Linked DNA regions of Homo sapiens: region 2 is linked to region 1. Evidence: promoter capture Hi-C in human tissues and cell types (Jung and others, 2019). All regions are on one chromosome and are shown on one strand. The core of a region is centred on a gene start or on the middle of the fragment in contact, and the rest is flanking DNA. Distances in the headings are between cores, read along the strand shown. Region 1 overlaps EXD3 (exonuclease 3'-5' domain containing 3). Region 2 holds the start of SAPCD2 (suppressor APC domain containing 2).

The links. Contacts are between HindIII fragments. The study calls those that stand out against the background at their distance.
Region 2: the fragment with the promoter of SAPCD2 here is called in contact with a fragment that was not itself captured in region 1 in 2 of the 25 tissues and cell types used here (dorsolateral prefrontal cortex and spleen).

What each region holds. Positions count from the first base shown.
Region 1 is chr9:137,413,696-137,416,418 of GRCh38, reverse strand. All of the region lies in intron 1 of EXD3 (exonuclease 3'-5' domain containing 3), which reads left to right. Among named protein-coding and RNA genes, the nearest start is that of EXD3, 8.1 kb to the left of the region's middle. The HindIII fragment of the contact is 3,762 bases long and covers 1-2,723 here.
Region 2 is chr9:137,069,224-137,071,946 of GRCh38, reverse strand. SAPCD2 (suppressor APC domain containing 2) reads left to right here and starts at 1,390. Exons shown (of 6, transcript NM_178448.4): 1 at 1,390-2,057. The coding sequence starts at 1,487. RefSeq lists an enhancer at 249-1,228 and silencers at 1,333-1,742, 1,913-1,962, 2,013-2,062. The HindIII fragment of the contact is 19,800 bases long and covers 1-2,131 here.

The sequences.
Region 1 (2,723 bases), core at 57-2,556:
TGCGGTGGAGTGTGAGCTGGACCTGGGGGTGCCCGGCCTGATGGGAAGGTGGCAGAGGCTGTGTGACATGGAGATAGGTCGTGAGGGCCCCAAGTCCGCCCCTTTGTCCCTGTGGGTCCCTCACTCTGGGAACCTCGGGCTGCTGAGGACTGAGACGTGCAGTGCCCTCCCCCTGGTGGAGCGGCCACCCAGCCAGCCACCGCAGAATTCTTGGCCCTCAGGCACTGCAGAAGAGCGAAAGCCCTGGCTGTGGGTCCCAGGTGTGGCTGGCAGTGGCCGGCGGCAGGCAGAGGCCCTGTCACCATGGGTGAGGTGTGGAGGTGCTAAGGCTAAGATCCCATCCTAGTTTTAACCTTCAAAAATATCATTCATGGTTTTTTCTTTGTTCATGAATACAAACCAGGGTGTATACATTGTGTAGTATTCAGAAAATACAAAACAGAAAGCACAGAGGCACCGTCGGCAGAGCAGCCAGGCCCTCACACGTGCATCTGCCTGGTTTTGAGAAGGGACCTTGCACCGTGCAGCGTGATCCCCTTAGGGCAACGCGACTTTATGCTGCTCTGTGAACCCTTTCCCATGCCATTAAGTATTTTTATAAAACATGGTTTTTAAATGCTGTTTATCATTCATCAGATTCTACCTTGTGTGATCAGAACTGGGGTCCTTGGGAAAGCCCACCCTTGATGGGGGACTGTTGGCCCCAGCCCCGTCTGTGATGGTGACCCCAACATGTGCTGTTGGCACCTCCCAGAAAGGGTTCCCCAGAGCCCATGGGCCACCTGACCCGTCCTTGCAGCTGTCCCATGGTACATCCATGTGTTGTGGGCAGTGAGCTGCAGGGAGGTGGGGTGCACAGAGAAGCTTGCCGCAGAGCTAAAACCAACACGGTGAACAGGGAAGGTGTCCTTCAAAACCGCAGCCTGGGCAGGAGCAGTGGCTCCTGCCTGTAATCCCAGCACTTTAGGAGACCGAGGCAGGCTGATCACCTGAGGTCAGGAATTCGAGACCAGCCTGGCGAACATGGAGAGACCCTGTCTCTACTAAAATTACAAAAATTAGCTGTGCATGCCTGTAATCCCAGCCACTCAGGAGGCTGAGGCAGGAAAACGGTTTGAACCCGGGAGGCGGAGGTTGCAGTCAGCTGAGATCGCCCCACTGCACTCCAGCCTGGGCAACAGAGCAAGACTCCATCTCAAAAAACAGAAAAAAAAAAAACAAACCTGTGACAGGCCCAGCGCAGTGGCTCACGCCTGTAATCCCAGCATTTTGAGAGGCCGAGGTGGGCGGATTGCTTGTGGTCAGGAGTTCAAGACCATCCTGGCCAACATGATGAAACCGCGTCTCTACTAAAAATACAAAAATTAGCTGGGCGTGGTGGCAGGCACCTGTAATCCCAGCTACTCGGGAGGCTGAGGCAGGAGAATCACTTGAACCCTGGAGGCAAAGCTTGCAGTGAGCCGAGATCGCCCCCCTGCACTCCAGCTTGGGCGACAAAGTGAGATTCCGTCTCAGCCTGGACAACAGAGCGAGACTCCATCTCAAAAACATAAAAACAAACATACAAAGAAACCCTGCGACCTACGTGGAGCCCACGGGGGCCAAACATGCCAGCACCCCCCTGGAGTGGCGGTGTGGGACCCCACACCTGTCACACCTGCTGGCCTCCTTCTCCATCTCCTGTGCAATATCCCTGGAAAGTTACTTTTTGTGTTTAAAATTGGTCATGTTAATTGTTAAGGAAAGGAACAATCCTTAAGTTAAATTGGTAAGTTTAAAAAAACGAAAGACAGACCGCAACAGGCGTTGGTGAGGCTGTGGAGAAATCAGAACCCTCGTGTGTTATCGATGCTAGCGTAAAATGGCACGTCCACTGTGGAAACAGTCTGGTAGTTCCTCAAAAAGCTAAACATAGAAACACCGAGACTCAGCAGCTCCAGTCCTAGGAATGTGTGTCCCCAGATCAGTGAAAACACACTCCACACAGAAACATGCACACAGCTGTTCACAGCAGCACTGTTTATAACAGCCAGACAAGGGGGTGCGGCCCGAATGTCTGCTGGACAAACAGCCCGTGGTCTGTGCACACAGTGGGGCAGGACTCAGCCACGGAAAGGCAGTTCCAGCACATGCTGCTGCAGGGATGAGTTTTGAAGACACCATGCCAAGTGAGGTCAGTCAGCCACAAGAGAACAGAACCTTGGCCGGGCGCGGTGGCTCACGCCTGTAATCCCAGCACTTTGGGAGGCCAAGGGAGGTGGATCACGAGGTCAGGAGATCGAGACCATCCTGGCTAACACACAGTGAAACCCCGTCTCTACTAAAAATACAAAAATTAGCCGGGCGTGGTGGCGGACGCCTGTAGTCCCAGCTACTCGGGAGGCTGAGGCAGGAGAATGGCGTAAACCCGGGAGGCAGAGCTTGCAGTGAGCCGAGATGGCACCACTGCACTCCAGCCTGAGCAACAGAGTGAGACTCCGTCTCAAAAAAAAAAAAAAAGAAAAAAAAAACAACAGAACCTGTGTGGTCTCCTTTATAGGAAATGCCCAAAATAGAAAGATTCACAGAGACACAAAATGGCCAGGGGCTGAGGAGGGGCAGAGGGAGTAATTGTTGATGGGCACATGGTTGGTTGTCTTTGGGGCAATGAAAATGTTCTGGGCTGAGGCAAGTGGATCACGTGAGGTCAGGAGTTCAAGACCAGCCTGGCCAAACATGGCAAC
Region 2 (2,723 bases), core at 141-2,640, 340 kb after region 1:
CTCCCACCTCAGCCTCCCAAATACCTGGGACCACAGGCATGCACCACCACGCCTGGCTAATTTTTTAAACTTTTTGTAGAAATAGGGTTGCCTTATGTTGCCCAGGCTGGTCTTGAACTCCCCAGCTCAAGTGATCCTCCCGCCTCGGCCTCGTGCTGGGTTTTTGAGCAGACCAGCCATTAAAGGGGAAGCTGGCTTACAGGACCAAGCTCTGATGGGCTGCTCCAGGCTCAGAGCTTCTTATGTCCTTCCAGCATTCCCTACGATGAAGGAGTCCCACTTAGAGTGAGTGACCCAGAAGAGAAGTGGACCCAGGATACTCCCTGGCCTGGGAAGATGCCTCTACAGCTTGAGACACAGGCACCAGTGGCTCAGGCCTGAGGACAGAGACCCAGGTAGGTATGCCAGCTGAGGCCTGCCCAGGAGGGAGGGTGGGAGACCCGCAGAGGGCCAAGGCAAGTCTCGGATTGGGGGCCTGTCTGGGGAGGGTGTTTGCACCCTGAACACCTCCCTGGAACCTAGAGGGTACTACTGGCCAGCCCTGAGATGGGCTCCCAGGGCTAGAACCCAGGCTAAGGCCTGGTCTCACCTCCCATGTGGACAGACCAAATGAAGACAGAGTGACCAGATCCCAGCTGGAAACACAGCAGAGGCAGGGGGACAGGGCTGCGGGAGCCAGGAGAGCAGCTGGAGGAGGTGTCCAGCCAGGGGAAGGAGGAGAGGAGAGCAAGAGGCAGAGGGAGCTGGTCACTAGATGGGGATCTGGGGACACAGGAGAAAGTGGCTTTGTTCTGCAGCAGGCAGGCCAGGCCAGACTGTCCCGAGGGACCAGAGGAGGAGCCAGCAGCAGTGGGGACAGAAAGGCCTCTGTGAGTGGGAAGCGCCCAGCTGGCTGGAGCCTACGATCCTCTTGGGGCCCTCCTGGTGGAAGAGAAGGGGGCCGCAGGGTCACCTGTGCTTGCGGCCAGGGAACTAGAGGGGAAAAGTGGGATCTTTGGAGGGGGTGCCCCCCCCCATTCTTACCCCACGAGGCTACCTGGAGACAGGTTTTTTTGTAGGGTGCCAGGCCCCGCCCCTTGGAGAGGTGGCCGGGGCAGCCAGCCACAGCTGGATCCGAGAAAGCGCCTGGCCGCGGCAGGAGGTTTGGTGGGGCTGGGGCGGGGCAGAAAGGAAGGTCTGCGAGGCCAGAGTGGAGCAGGAGCTGGGGGATCCGGTTCCGCCTGCCCAGGGCCTCCGCGCGCCTCCCAGGGCCACTCGGCAAGAAAAAAAAAAAAAAAATCAAACCTCCTCTCAGCCTATCAGAGAGCAGATGGGACGGGCTCGGCCAATGGCCGCGGCGCATGTTAATGAGGGCTGACGCCGCGAGGAGGGCCCCATTCAAAAGTAGTCGCTATTGTCGCCGTGGGCTGAGCTCGCCGGGCCGGCCCCTCCGTGGGGCCGCGCTGGGACGCACGCGGGTGGACGAGGGGACCGATCCCGGGCGCCCATGGCCGGGGCCGCCATGGCCGAGCGGGGCCGCGTGCCTCCCCCCGCACCCGCGCCCAGCACGGAGGGGCTGCCGCGCGCCTTCCTGCAGAGCCTGCGCACCCTGTTCGACATCCTGGACGACCGGCGGCGCGGCTGCGTGCACCTGCGCGAGATCGAGTCCCGCTGGCAGGGCACCGACGCGCGGGAGCTGCCCCGCGGGGTGCTGGAGGGCTTGCGCCAGGTGGCCCCGGCCAGCGGCTACCTGACCTTCGAGCGCTTCGTGGCCGGCCTGCGCACCTCCCTGCTGAGCGCCGACGGCGGCCCCCGGGACCCCACGCGCGCCCCGGCCCGGCCCGGGGATCAGCCGCCGCCGCCGCCGCAGCGCCTGGTGTTCGCTCCGGCCGACGAGCCGCGGACGGTCCTGGAGAGGAAGCCCCTGCCCCTGGGCGTGCGCGCCCCTCTGGCCGGTCCCAGCGCCGCCGCCCGCAGCCCGGAGCAGCTGTGCGCCCCGGCTGAGGCGGCGCCCTGCCCCGCGGAGCCCGAGCGGTCCCAGAGCGCGGCGCTGGAACCGAGCTCCAGCGCGGACGCAGGTGAGTTCCGGACGGCCCCCGGGCACCCTCGTAGCTCTCCCGGGCCCGGGCCAGAAACCGCAGTCCCACAGCTGCTGCCCGTGCATTTCCCACAAGGGACGGGACCGGGGAGCGGCTCTTCGTGGACTCCGGATCCTGGAGGGCGCCTCGGCGGGTCTGGAGGGAAAGGGCTTCATGCTTGTCGCGGTGAGCCCAGGGGCTTGCTTAGGGAGGCAAGCCAGACCCTCTCCTGCCACAGCATAAGGCCACCAGGGCCGGGGGGTGGCAGGTGACTCAGAAAACCCACCGGGAGCCCAACCTGTACCAAGCCTGAGCTTGGGCTCTCCATCTCCAATACCCTTTCCGCACCTGGGGACACCTGGGCCCTCAGCCTCCTGTCTGTGGCTGCTCAGGCAGAAGTGCTTCCTTCTCAAAGAAAGGGTCCCCCTTCTCAGTGTGACAGCTTAGCCAGGGGGGCTGGGCCCACTGACCCCACTGAGGCCTAGGCAGGCGGGGGCTGCTGCTGGTGGCCCAAGAGGACCTGGCCCTGTTGCCAAGATGGGCAGGGGCGTGGGTGGATCTCCTGCACCCCAGTGGGGCTGTACTATGGCAGATGCCATGGAGGGACATAGGCCGTAGTCCCTGGGGATGGCTGGCACACTCCTCTCCTGCCTTCCGGTCCAGTTG